Regions from separate parts of the Homo sapiens genome. Here regions 2 and 3 are each linked to region 1. Evidence: promoter capture Hi-C in 16 types of primary human blood cells and fetal thymus (Javierre and others, 2016). All regions are on one chromosome and are shown on one strand. Each heading gives the region's core, a stretch centred on a gene start or on the middle of the fragment in contact. The rest is flanking DNA. Distances are from core to core; before and after follow the strand shown.

The links. Contacts are between HindIII fragments. The CHiCAGO score rates a contact against its expected background, and 5 or more counts as called.
Region 2: a fragment that was not itself captured here is called in contact with the fragment with the promoter of DDX60 in region 1 in 7 of 17 cell types (total B cells, activated CD4 T cells, naive CD8 T cells and 4 more); the score reaches 11.7 in total B cells.
Region 3: a contact is called between a fragment that was not itself captured here and the fragment with the promoter of DDX60 in region 1, in 2 of 17 cell types (naive CD8 T cells and naive B cells). The highest score is 5.2, in naive CD8 T cells.

The regions. Positions count from the first base shown.
Region 1 is chr4:168,315,887-168,320,686 of GRCh38, reverse strand. DDX60 (DExD/H-box helicase 60) reads left to right here and starts at 1,935. Exons shown (of 38, transcript NM_017631.6): 1 at 1,935-2,065. RefSeq lists an enhancer at 1,672-2,001. The HindIII fragment of the contact is 2,588 bases long and covers 1-2,446 here.
Region 2 is chr4:169,570,976-169,575,775 of GRCh38, reverse strand. The region is part of intron 12 of NEK1 (NIMA related kinase 1); the gene reads left to right. Among named protein-coding and RNA genes, the nearest start is that of NEK1, 39 kb to the left of the region's middle. The HindIII fragment of the contact is 4,110 bases long and covers 435-4,544 here.
Region 3 is chr4:169,481,947-169,486,746 of GRCh38, reverse strand. All of the region lies in intron 23 of NEK1 (NIMA related kinase 1), which reads left to right. Among named protein-coding and RNA genes, the nearest start is that of NEK1, 130 kb to the left of the region's middle. The HindIII fragment of the contact is 2,417 bases long and covers 1,279-3,695 here.

The DNA of each region.
Region 1 (4,800 bases), core at 686-3,185:
TATTTCTGCTGTTTGCAAATATGTTATTCATTTCCTACAATACAGTTTGCAATATTGTATTAGTTCTCTATGGCTGCTGTAACAAATTACCACAAATTTAGTGGCTTAATACCACACAAGTTTGTTCTCTTACAGTTCTGAGCTCAGAGGTTCAAAATCAGTCTCTCTGGGCTGAAGTCAAGGTGTTATCAGGGCTGATTTCTGGAGGCTCTAGAAAAAAAAAATGTTTCCTTGCCTTTGGTAGTTTCTAGAGACCACCAGACTCCTTGGCCCGTGGTCCCTTCCACTGTCTTCAACGCCATCTGTGTAGTGTCCCCACATTCTGTCACTGACTGTTTCTATCATCACATTGCCCCTCGAACTCCTGTCTCCCTCTTATAAAGGCCCTTCTGATGACCTTGGGCCCACCTGGATAATCCCGGGTAAGGGGTAATCTCCTCTTCTAAAGATTCTTATTTAATCTATTTTGCAAAGTTACTTTTGCTATGAAAGTTACTGTATTCATAGGTTCCAGGAATTAGGATTTTGGCCTCTTTTGGAGGGAGGAGTGCAGGGTATTATTCAGCCTACCCCAGGCAGGTACATCAGAGATCACAGTGAAGGAGACAGGAATATTGGCTGATTTAAGACCAATCATGTGTTAAATTCTAGAGTCTTTTATTTTCTTTCTTAATCTCATCACTAACAAACACGTGAATTTCTAAACAAATGAATAAACAAGTAATTGTCTGATGGATGTGAGAAATGTCCTCCTTCCCCATATCCCCCTCTTTTAACAACTTGACTCTCTAATTTTTCACAAGACAAAGTATCATTCACTACTCTCTCTGTTCTGTGTTCCCTGTGGAGCAGTGCCTGGACCTTGGCTCTTTCCTTTCCTTGTAGACAAAGCAGCCTGTGGCTTCTTATCATGCTGATTACCCAAATTCACTGCTGTCTTTCCTCCACACCCTCTTCTATTTCCAATATATGAATGCATATTTATAGCATTAATGAAATCAAGCATACGAGGGCACTGAAAGGAAAGGAGATGAGTATCGAAACCCACACTGCAAGTATCAACAGGCAAAAATTAAGAGAACATTTCATCAATTTGAGGCACAAATAAATGTGACCATTCTGCATTTTCAATTTATTTTTTAATGTTGATTCTTGGCCCATGAAAGTACCAATTACAGTTTATACAGAACAGTAATCATCAGCTTCTCATAACAGAAACTCAAAGTTCATGTATTGTTACATACTTTCTTTTTTCTTTTTGCATACAAGTAGAAGCAGCAAGATCTCCAATTTCATTGTGGGGTTTCAGATTCCACAGTGTCTTTTACATTTTATCAATTTCTAAATTCTAACTCTTCTTGATTTTATCTTGTTTAGATGTTACAAATTTTTCTGCCTCAATTTACTCTATATTTATGCCCAAATTCCAAAGCCCATTTTTATTGCCTTTGTCTCTCTCTTTTAAGGTTTTTTTTAGTTTCATTTTATTTTTAATTGACGCATAATAATTGTATATATTTTTGGGGTACAATGTGACGTTTCAATACATGTATACATTGTGTGATGATCAAATCAGGATAATTAGCCCATCTATTACCTCAAAACTTTACTATTTCTTTGTGATGAGAATATTCAAAATTCTCTCTTCTAGCTATTTTGAAATATGCATTATTGTTAACTATACACACCCTACTGCAGAATAGAATACCAGAACTGGTTCTTCCTAGCTATTGTAACTTCATACCTTTTAACTAACGTCTCGCCATGCTCCCCTTCTTAAGATTCTGATTGAAGGGAAGGATGCTAAACTTTCCACGAAAGTGCCTCGCCTAATTCGTGCTGAAGGGAAACTGAAACCTAAGTGCTTCTGAGAGGAGAAAGGAAACCGAAACTCCCGCCGGATGCATAAAAGACTGGCTGCGGTGGCTCAGAGCGCCGAGTCCTAGGCCAGGTCTGGGGTAACCTGGAACTTCCACCTGGGCTCTGCGCTAGGTCTCTGTTTCACTCCCTCCCCGCGGGGCGCGCAGCTCGCGGGTCTTTGGACACCACCGGTCCTGAGTCCGCGGTGAGGAGCCGGGGATGTCCCTTGGGAAGAGCCTGGGGCGGAGCTGTCTAGCGGGAGTTCTAGGTCTTCTTCAACGGACCGGACAGGGAGGTGGCCCAGGAGTGCTGGGCTCGGGGCGCGGGAATCTGGGGAACCTCCTGGGATCGCAAGGCCGTGGCGCACGGGCCCCCTGCTGGCCCGGAAGGCCGGGCGTGGGGAGGGGCGGAGGAAAGGGACAACCGCGAAAGGCCTGAAGTCTGAGACAGAGAGGAGTGCTTAGTTAGGCATTTAAGGAGTCCCCGTCAAAGGTGGGAGCTGGGTAATGGAGGTTGAGGAGAAATTAAGGGACATCATATCTAAGCACAGCCAGTAAAACCTGTACATTGACAGCAGCAAGAAGCTTCCACCTTCAATCCCTGCTCCAGACTTGTAGAATCAGAATCTGCGTTTATTAATAAGATTCCCCCAGGTAATTTCTGTGCACCCTTAAATTTCAGTGGCTTAAGACAATAGAAATTTATTTCCTACTCCAGTAACTTAATTTATTCCTGGTCAAGGGGCAGGTATAGTGGCTTAAAACATTACAAGTTTATTATTTTACAATTGCTGTGGATCAGAAGCCCAGGCATGGGTAAAGTGAGTTCTCTGTTCAGCATCTCATCGAGCTGAAATCAAGGTGTCAGAGCTGTGGCCTCATGGGACACCATGGATGCTCATTCAGGTTGTTGGAAGAATTCAGTTTCTTGCAGCTAAAGGACTGAGGTTACCTGCTTTCTTGCTGGCTGTTGGCTGGGGGTTCCCATGTCTTTAGATTTCACCCTGAGATCTTAGCTACAGTGGCCTTCTCACAACAAGGTGGCTTATACCGTTAAAGAAGGTATAGGGTACCTTTAAAGAAGGTATAAGCCTCTTTGGGGGAATCTCCCGAGTCTACTATGATGAAGTCTTACATAATATAACCGAATCATTAAAGAGACTATGCCATTAAATTCACAGGTCCTGTCCACACTCAAGGGGAGAGGGTTATACCGGGTACTGGAAGCCATTTTAACCCACCAGCTCTTCTCCAGGCAGGGTTTCAGGAGCTTGATGCCTTTCATCAAGTAGCTCCACCATTCTGTTCCAATACAGAATCCATGATTTCCTTTCCCTTCCCTTGCCCCCATTTTTTTCCTCTTTACCTCCCCTTTGCGCCTTTCCTCTTCCCTCCTTTTTTCTCTTTTCCATTTCTCTTCCTCCCTTCTTCTTTTCTTCTTCCTTTTTAAGATTGTTTGAATCAGAATATGGTTCTGACACTACTGTGATTGGAGGATAAGCCTTATAAGGTTCTTGCAATTTCTTTCATCCCCTTTTAATTTATTCGTTTGTAAGATTTGTGGTCTTATGATTGTTTGTTTTTGTATGTGTGTGTCCTGTTGGGTGTGTGTTTATGTGTGTGTGTGTGTATGTGTCCTAATCCCTGTGGTGTCATTTAACATATTTTGCTGGCCTCTAAATTTCTTGTAAATTAATCATTACTACTAGCGTTTTGATCAGATTCAGGTTTTCTTTTTTTTCTTCTTCTTCTTTTTTTTTTTTTTTTTTTGAGACGGAGTCTTGCTCTTTTGCCCAGGCTGGAATGCAGTGGCTTGATCTCAGTTCACTGCAACCTCTGCCTCCCAGGTTCAAGCGATTCTTCTACCTCAGCCTCCCAAGTAGCTGGGATTACAGGTGACTGTCACCATGCCCAGCTAATGTTTGCATTTTTAGTAGAGATGGGGTTTCACCATGTTGGCCAGTCTGGTCTCGAACTCCCGACCTCAGGTGATCTGCCCGCCTTGGCCTCCCAAGTTTTGGGTTTCTTTTTTTTTTGGCTGGGAGAACTACAATACTTCACTGATGGTGTGGACACTTGCCTCTATTTTTGTTGTGCTATCGTTTAAAAATACCAAGATCTGTTAATTCATTAGGAGTTGTAAAATGGTGATATTCTAATTCTATCATTCCTTCTGTGTTTATTAGCTGCATTATTTCTAGAAATGAATCACTCTTGTATCTACTCTTTGGTAATGCGATGGTGCAGTACTTAGAAGAAAAGCAGGATAATTTCTTGATTCCATAAACCATTATTTTTTTTCATATATTGTCTTCAGATGCTATTGCTGGACATCCTGCTGTGAAAGATGAAGAATTTAGCATTCATATTTATTTTTCTTTCATTCATCCCTTTGTGAACTGCCAAGTTGGTTAATTATATTATTATTTTCATACTGTCAAGGTTTATCATATTTTACAGCAGTTTGTGACTTTGATTCTTGTGATTTGTTTGTATGTTGAGTCAACAGTAAAAAAGAAGTAAACAGCAGTGACAAAATTATGAGTATGTACACATTACTCAGTGTAGAAGCAATCTAGGAATTGCTAGGCTAAGACATGTAGTTCTATGTTGTTAAAATTACTGTTTGAAATAGACTTTTGTAAATTCGAAGTACCATGGGTTCTCTTGTTTTTCTTTATAGCTTCCTTTAACTTTTCTAAATCACACAAAGTTTCATGGTTTTTTGATTGTCTTCATTCTTGATGGGTTTTCCCCAATTTTCTGTATTATCTCTTTAAATAAAATTATCATTTAAGATATATAGTTGGCATTTTGGAAGACAGCGTGGCCATTCCTCAAGGATCTAGAACCAGAAATACTATTCGACCCAGCAATCCCATTACTGGGTATATACCCAAAGGATTATAAATCATTCTACTGTAAAGACACATGCACATGT
Region 2 (4,800 bases), core at 1,240-3,739, 1.3 Mb before region 1:
GGGTATGGCAGTAGCTCACTCGATGGCCCCACAGTCTGGGGCTGGCAAAGAGGAAAGTGTCCACTGTGGAGCTGACGAAACTCCCTGCGAAACTGCCTGGAGTGTCAGTAGAATGTACTGGGAAGCCACTTGAGGAGCCGTTGAACTCACTGGGAAGCCTGCTGGGGTGCCAGTGGAACTTATCTGGTGCTGCTCTAGCTGGGATGCTGGCTGAGGCACCAGCAGAATTCTGTGGGAAGCTCTTCTTGCAGGTGCTGCTGAAACTCACAGGGAAGCTGGTAGGGGCACTGGCCAAACACTCCTGGAAGGTGCCTGTAGGGGTGAGTGCTGCTGTTTGTCCCACTTGCTGCAGTAACAGGAAGAAAGGAAACACACTAATCAGGAAGAGAAGCTTCTGCCTTTGCAGTGACCCTCTCAGTTTTACTGACAAAGCTTAATATTGTGTTAGCAATCAAAGAAGAAATGTTTACAACGTCCAGCTCTAGCATCACAAGCTGGACAATGAAGAGTAGATTTGGAGCTGAGGGGCAATATGGTAACTGGCCTGCTGGTTTTATCTATCTTTAAAAAGATGTATTCAAACCTAAGTGGGCCAATTCCATCTTATCGTTTTATCTCTCTTTACTTCAGTCACCACAGGAAGCCTAGGACTCCAGCTTTCCCTCACTGCCTAGACTCTCCTATTGCTGTAAGACTCTGGTCATACTCTGATCTGCCCCCACCCCTGCATAGTTTTCTATAGGTTGGTGCAAAAGTAGTTGGGGTTTTTGTCATTGAAAGCAAAACCGCCATTACTTTTGCACCAACCTGTAATCTCTTCCAGAAAACTCTCTTATAGTACATTCTTGGCAAAATCCACTGTATTTTAAACTTCTAAAGATGTCTTCACCTTTTTTGCTTGAAAACCTGGTTTGTCCCTGAACACACTGTTCTGCAGCTGTCTTACATGCTGGCTGTTTTCTCTAATCCCTTAATATTATTGGGTCTAGAGGTAGGATGAAGGAAATGTTTCCCTTGCTTCTCATTGCCAGACTCTCCCTGCTGCCTGATCCTGCCATTCTCCTCATCTCTCTACCTTGATGCTTTTGCTACCAGACTGTATCACCTACTGCTCTTCTGTGTTAGGATCATCTGTAGACACTTGTCTTTTTTTTTTTTTTTTTTCTTTTGAGGTGGAGTCTCCCTCTGTCGCCCAGGCTGGAGTGCAGTGGCACAATCTCAGCTCATTGCAAGCTCCGCCTCGCGGGTTCACGCCATTCTCCCGCCTCAGCCTCCTGAGTAGCTGGGACTGTGGGACTACAGGCGCCCGCCACCACACCCAGCTAATTTTGTTTTTGTATTTTTATTAGAGACGGGGTTTCACCATGTTAGCCAGGATGGTCTCGATCTCCTGACCCCATGATCCGCCCGCCTTGGCCTCCCAAAGCGCTGGGATTACGGGCATGAGCCACCACGCCCCGCCAACCCTTGTCTTTTGAAGAGTTTAACACCTGACTCACTGTCACTCCTTCCAATATTGTCATAATTCTTTACAGTTTTAGTATAAAAAAAGATGATACTTCCTATAGAACATGGCCTTTTGTTTTCATTTTCTTTCTTTCTCTTTTCTTTTCTTTTTGAGAAAGAGTCTTGCTCTGTTGCCCAGGCTAGAGGACAGTAGTGCGGTCATGGCTCACTGCTGCCTTAACTTCCTGAGCTCAAGCAATCCACCTCCTCAACTTCCTGAGTAGCTGAACCACAGGCAAGTGCCACTACACCCAGCTAATTTTTTATTTTTTGTAGTGGTGGGGTTGCACTATGTTACCCAGGCTTGTCTCAAACTCCTGGGCTCAAGCAATGCTCTTGCCTTGGCTGCCCAAAAAGTGCTGGGATTACAGGCATGAGCCACCGTGCCTGGCTTATTTTCTTGATCATTCTCTTTCAAATATCTTGTCTCCCACTTTAACTTGAAACTCTCACCTATGGCCATGCCATTAAAATTTTTATTATCAATAATAACAACTCTTTCTTAGCCTCATTTATAATCATCCCGTTCCCTGATCACCACTTCCTGTGTTTCTAGCTTACTTCTTTAGGAGTCTGCCTCCAAAACATCTGTCCCATTTGGATCCATGAATCCTAATAACTTCCTTTATTCCCCCTCTTTGTTTCTATTTTCCTTACCTGGCTTAAATTCCATATTCATTTATAATAATTTCCAAATGGTCAGCTCTCTTGCCCTCTCTTCCATTATTACCAATAACCAAAAAACTTAACTTTGTGAAATCCAACTCTCCACTTCATTTGTGCCTGAAGCTGGTCAGTGGAATATGGCTGGAGAAAGCATATGACTATTGTAACTAGTCTAACTTTCAATATGTAACCAACAATATCAAATTAGCACCTTCTGGTCACCCTATTATATTTCCTCAGTGTATTTACTCTTCTACTTCCTAGGTGATTATTTTTTACCTTCTCTTTGCTTTTCACAAGGACCAATATTTTCTTCCTACTTCACTGAGAAAATAGAAGCAATTGGAAGAAAACTTTCCCACAATTACTTCTGCTAGTCAGTCTTACCTGTTGGCAAATATTTTACCTTTCTTCGTTTTACTTTGGATGACCTGTTTCTGTTCCCAGTTAGGATCAACTCAATCATTTGCATACTGTGATTCTTTTTTGCCTGCTAAAGGACTTTGCGCTCTCTCCTGCATCATTATAGTTTTTTCTCTCTACTGAATCATTCATGTTAGCAAACAAATATCCTATATCTTAAGTCTTTTTAAAAAGGAACTTTCCCTTATGTCCTTCCAACTACCTCTCTATATTTCTGGTCCCTTTAACAACAAAACTTTCCCAAAAGATTGTCTATACTGTCTCCAGTTCATTTCATTTTGAACCCACTTCACTCATGGCTTTCTTTGTCACAGCTGTTATGAAACAGCTGTTGTGAAATGGCTCCTGATGTCTATATTATTAAATCCATGGGTCATTTTTCTTCTTCCTTGACCTCAGTTTTTGACTCACTTGATTGCCCCCTCCTTCTTGAAATATTTTCTTCATTTGAGTCCCTGGTATTACATTCTTCTGGTTTTCTTCCTACCTCATTGACTGCTGCTTCTCAGCCTCCTTTGCAAGTTCCTCCTCACCTCCAGGGCTTTTAAATGCTGAGGTGCTCAAGGTCTCAGGCCTCAGATATCTTCTTTTTTGTATCCATACGAACTTTCTAATGGATAACATCTATAAGCTGACTCTCAAATTTGTATCTCCACCTTGGACTCCTTTCCTGAACTGGAGACTGATACCTGTCTTAACATCTCCAGCTGTGTTTCTAATAGACATCTCAAAATTACCATATATAAAAATGAACTCTTGATTTCATTCTCTCTCCAAATTGATCTTACTTATTTCAGTAAATGGGAACTCTGCCCTTCCATTTGTTCTCATCTTCCATATTGGAGTCATTATTGACTACTCTTTCTACGTCATATCCTGTCAATTGTGACTTCAAAATATATTCACGGTCTGACTACTTCTCATTATTTTTACCACCATATTAGTCCTAGCCACCCTCACTTTCCACCAGGGTTATAATAATCTCATGATTAGTCTAACTGCTTTCAGACTTACCCTCTTAGTCTGTTCTCATGTGAGCAGCCCAAATGTTCCTTTTATGATGGAAGTCAGATCGTTACACTCTCCTGCTTGAAACTTTTCAGTGTCTTTTCATCCCACTCAGTAAAAGCCAGGGTCGGCCGGGCCCGGTGGCTCCTGCCTGTAATCCCAGCACTTTGGGAGGTGGGCCTTGTGACCTTGATCTCACGATGTCAAGAGATTGAGACCATCATGGCCAACATGGTGAAACACCTTCTCTACTAAAAATACAAAAAAAAAAAAAAAATTAGCTGGGCATGGTGGTGTGTGCCTATAATCCCAGCTACTCAGGAGGCTGAGGTAGGAGAATTGCTTGAACCTGAGAGGCAGAGGTTACAGTGAGCTGAGATCATGCCACTGCCCTCCAGCCTGGAGACAGAGTGAGACTTGGTTTCAAGAAAAAAAAGCAAGCCAGAGTCTTTACAACTGTCTACAAAGCCCCCGACAGCCTCATTACCTTTCCAAGTCTCATTTGCTACTCTTCCCTTGCTAGTCCCGGTACAGCCTTGCCAAACCTGTTGTCCTTAAACATGCCAAGTACTTACCTGCAAAAACAAGTTTGTACTTGCTGCTGTCTTTTCTTTGAGGTCTGTGCTCAAAACTTGCTTTATGAATAGAGCCTTTCTTGATCACACTATATCAAGTAATAACCATCCCTCTACGCCATTCCCACGTTTCTACTCTACTTTACTCTGCTTTGTTTTTCTCCACAATGTTATCACTTTCTAATCTATTTTCAATTAGTTTATTACCAGTTTCCTCCACTACAGTGCAGAAATTCATGAGGGTAGGGATTTTTGTTGTTGTTCACTAGTTCCTGGCAAATAGTTCCTGGCCTCAAGTAATCCACCTACCTTGGCCTCCCAAAGTTCTGGGATTACAGGTATGAGCCACCGCAACCAGGCTAAGCTTTTATTCTTTTTATTTATTTATTTATTTATTTATTTATTTATTTATTTATTTTTTTATTGATCATTCTTGGGTGTTTCTCGCAGAGGGGGATTTGGCAGGGTCATAGGACAATAGTGGAGGGAAGGTCAGCAGATAAACAAGTGAACAAAGGTCTCTGGTTTTCCTAGGCAGAGGACCCTGCAGCCTTCCGCAGTGTTTGTGTCCCTGGGTACTTGAGATTAGGGAGTGGTGATGACTCTTAATGAGCATGCTGCC
Region 3 (4,800 bases), core at 1,238-3,737, 1.2 Mb before region 1:
TACACACTCATTGCTTCTGGCTACCTTGTTCTTATTCTTAGATATTCTTATAAAAGCATTATGGCAATACTAGTTAAGAAAATTTATTCAAATACAAATACTTTTATACTATTGGTTCTTCAAAGATAAGGTTTTGAGACATTAAATATGAATTTGATAAGATTTGGCCATGATATATCTTTAGGCTGTATAAAACTGTGTGAAATTACTCTATTCAAAATATGAAACTAAGTCATTTAATACTTTCCTAGCATACATTAAATCCTTACTAATAAGTCAGCATAAAGATGAAAATATGTTTGTTATTGATCAAGAGTAGGCAGACATCAAGAGTAGGCAGACTGGTGGTTTCATGTGTTTGTAAGCCTCGCCTCACTATTTGGTGAAATTTTGAGTTTCGTCATTTGGTGGCACTGCTGCTTAATTTTTCAGCACATGGCAAAATTGACACGTGAAGTAGAAACAGTTTTACAGCGATAATTGAAAACCTTTTGTGACAATAAAAGCAATGTTGAAAAGCCTTAAATTTATGAACCTTGTGAGAAAAATGGCTAAGAAAAAAAAAGCTTCTAAAGCATTTCTTTTAAAACTGAATTATGAAACTTTCAGGTCAATGTTTTATCTTTTTTTTTGCACATTTTTATATTTAAAACTGTGGTTAAACTTTGAAAGACTGTGCTTTGTTTGTTTTGTTTTGTTTTGAAACAGGGTCTTGCTCTGTCACTCAGGCTGGAGTGCCGTGGTGTGAACATGGCTCTCTGCAATTTCGACCTGCTGGGCTCAAGGGATCCTCCTGCCTCAGCCTGTCTATAGCTGGGACCCTTAGCACACGTCACCATACATAAGCTAATGTTCTTATTTGTTGTACAAATGGAGTCTCACTGGTCTGGTGAGACTCCATTTCTACAAGAAAAAAGAAAATTAACTGGGTCTCAAACTCCTGGGCTCAAGTGCTCCTCCTGCCTCAGCCTCCTGAGTGCTGGGATTATAGGTGTGAGCCATTGCACCCAGTGAAAAAGTATGTTTAGAATGAAATATATATTATAGATTTAGCTGGGTGATCAATTGTATAATAAAATTGGGTCATTCTTTGTTCCAAATTTTTATATTTTTCTCTTATATGAAACTTTATATTGTTTTCCTGGCTTAGTTAATTTTTGTGATATGTCATATTTGCTCAACTTTCCGTATAAAAGGCTTAGTGTAATGGTTTATCTTTCAATAATTAGAAGTACATTATCATCTTTTATCTCAAGATGTAGTTAATATTGAAAAGCTTTAAGGTTCTGATTATAAATAATACACCATGATATTTATACAGAAGGCCCAATTCAACTGTACTAATAAGTTACTTAAGTGTATGACATTAGCTTATAATGATGTTGCCACATTTCAGTAGTCATCCTGAACCACCCATAAATTTTCAGTAACTTAGTTGTCTTCTTAAGTTATTGTAAGAGTTAGTAATCTGTCTTTGTTCATTTATTTAGATTCCATGTCTGAATTTGTCTGTTTAGGTTCTTCTAATCTGTTTGGTTTAGTTGACTCAGAGGAGAGATCAGTATGCATTTGATTATAGAACATAAGCATTTACTGAAGGCTGCTGAAGATCATTATTATAAAAGTGCCAATAAATTTGTCTCTCACAATGCTCAAATTTTAATTTCTGATCATGGTTAAGATAGGAGGTTTTTGTTTTTAGTCTGCATTCTAAAGATGAGAAACTTGCATTCTGAAACTTAATACATTTCATCAGGAACTAAAACCAGACTTGTAGTGTTTAAGCCAAATAACCTTATTTAATGGAAACCAAATAAATAACAATTGCTACTATTTATTAGGTACACAGATGTGTACTTTACGTAAATTATCTCATGCAATCCCTATAGCAGAGAGGCAAAGAGTACAGCATTTCTATTTTAGAGAAAAACTGTGAGGTTCAGAGAGGATAAAAACAATGAAAAATCACAGGACTGGTGAGTGTTTTGGGATTTGAATGTACAACTGTCCTACTTTATCTGTGTTTTATGGCCTTCCCGAACAATGAATGGCTGACCATTGGCTGCTCTGCGAAGGCTGTTCTCACTGGTGCCCCTCTTGGCTTTACAGAGTTAGTTCTTTCTATATTTTTTGTTTCATTCTTCCCCAGATCGTTTAGTACTTATCTCTTTATTTTTTTCTCTGTAACATACTGATTGATTTATGTGTTCTTTTTTCTTTTCTAATTTACAGTCCCCTCAGAGAAAATATTGTGTCTAATTCATTTTGGATATCATTATCTAGAACTGTGCTTGGCCTTAATAGGTATTAATATGTATTTTAATTTATTGATAATTTTTGTCAAATATTGTGGATTTGTCTTCTCACAGAAATCGTGTCAGATTGATGTATCGAAATAGCAGGCCAAACGCGGTGGCTCACGCCTGTAATCCCAGCACTCTGGGAGGCCAAGGCAGGCAGATCACGGGGTCAGGAGTTCGAGACCAGCCTGGCCAACATGTGAAATCCCATTTCTACTAAAAATACAAAAATGTGCTGGGCATGGTGGCACATAACTGTAATCCTAGTATGTGGTAGAGAAGTGATTACTGATTTAAATAAAAATAGCAGAATGTGTTCATTCAAAGTATATTTCTTTTAAGTAATCATCTAGAGAAATAACATATTTGTTCTAAAAATACTGCTACTATTCAGAACAACTTTGGAGCTTGTTTTTATTCTCTCAGTGTATGAAACCTTATTTGAATTTATATACTATAGTAATTAAAACAAACAAAGTTTCAAAATATTTAGATATAATCTTTCAAGGTGATAATACTGTTAGGTGAGCTCTAGATATTTTTAAAAGTTATTTGTAGTAACTTTTTTTTTTTTTTTTTTTGAGACAGAGTCTCACTCTGTCGCCCAGGCTGGAGTGCAGTGGCACAGTCTCGGCTCACTGCAACCTCTGCCTCACGGGTTCAAGTGATTCTCCTGCCTCAGCCTCCCGAGTACTTGGGACTACAGGTGTACACCACCATGCCCGGCCAATTTTTTGTATTTTTAGTAGAGAGAGGGTTTCACCATGATGGCCAGACTGGTCTCAAACTCATGACCTTGTGATCCACCCGCCTTGGCCTCCCAAAGTGCTGGGATTACAGGTGTGAGCCACTGCGCCCGGCCTATTTGTAGTAACATCTTAAATATCAGTATACTTTTTCAATAATACTGAACTATGGGACTAAAGCAATGTTTCCATCCTTTTTTGAACAAAATAAATACAGGCATACTTTGTTTTATTGTGCTTCATAAATACTGCATTTTTTACAAATTGAAGGTTTGTGGCAACCCTGCATCAAGCAAGTCTATCAGTGTCATTTTCCCAACAGCTTTTGCTCATTTTGTGTCTTTGTGTCACATTTTTGTAATTCTTGCCATATTTCAAACTTTTTCATTATTGTCATTATATCTTTGATATTACTGTTGTAATTGTTCTGAGGCACCACAGACTTCACCCATATAAGATGGGAAATTTAATTGATGAATGTGTGTGTTCTAATTGCTCCACTGACTGGTAGTTCCCCTGTCTCACTCCTCAGATCTTATTCCCTAAGACAAAATAATATTGAAATTAGGCCACTTAATGACTTACAGTGGCCTCTTAAGTATTCAAGTAAAAGAGTTGCATGTCTGTCACCTGAAATCAAGATTAAGCTTGGTGATGAAGGCATATTGAAAGCTGAGATAGGCACAGAATTAAGCCTCTTGCGCCAGTTATCCAAGTTGTGAATGCAAAGGAAAAGTTCCTGAAGGAAATTAAAAGTGCTACCCCAGACCAGGTGCAGTGGCTCACGCCTGTAATCCCAGCATGTTGGGAGGCCGAGGCAGGTGGATCATGAGATCAGGAGTTTGAGACCAGCCTGGCTAACATAGTGAACCCCATCTCTACTAAAAATACAAAAAATTAGCTGAGCGTGGTGGTGTGTGCCTGTAATCCCAGCTACTCAGGAGGCTGAGGCAGGAGAATCATGTAAATCCAGGAGGGAGGCGGAGGTTTCACTGAGCCATTGCACCCCATTGCACTCCAGCCTGGGCGACAGTACAAGACTCCATCTCAGAAAAAAAAAAAGTTCTACTCCAGTGAACACACATGATAAGAAAGCGAAACAGCCAGGTGCCTGTAGTCTCAGCAACTCGGGAGACTGAGGCACGAGAATTGCTTGAGGCCAGAAGTTTGAGACTAGCATGGATGACATAGTGAGAACCTGTCTCTAAAAAAAAAAAAAGAAAGAAAGAAAGAAAGAAAAATTAGCTGGATGTGGTGGCACACACCTATAGTCCCAACCACATTGAGAAGCTAAGGCAGAATGATCATTTGAGCCTAGGATTTCAAGGTTGCAGTGAGCTATTATTGTGCCTGGATCTGCACTCCAGCCTGGGTGACAGAGCAAGACCCCATCTCTTAGAAAAAAAAGAAAGAAAGAAAGCAAAACAGCCTTCTTGCTGATATGGAGAAAGCTTTAGTGGTCTAGATAGAAGATCAAACCAGCCGCAACATTCTCTTTGGCCAAAGCCTAATCCAGAGCAAGGCCCTAACTCTCCTCAATTCCGTGAAGACTAGGAGAGATAAGGAAGCTACAGAAGAAAAATTGTTGGCTAGCAGAGATTGGTTCATAAGGTTTAAGGAAAGAAGCCACCTCCATAACATGAAAGTGCAAGGTAAAGCAGTAAGTGCTGATGGAGAAACTGCAGTACATTATCCAGGAGATATAGCTAAGATCATTGATAAAGGTGGTAATACTAAACAACAGATTTTCAGTG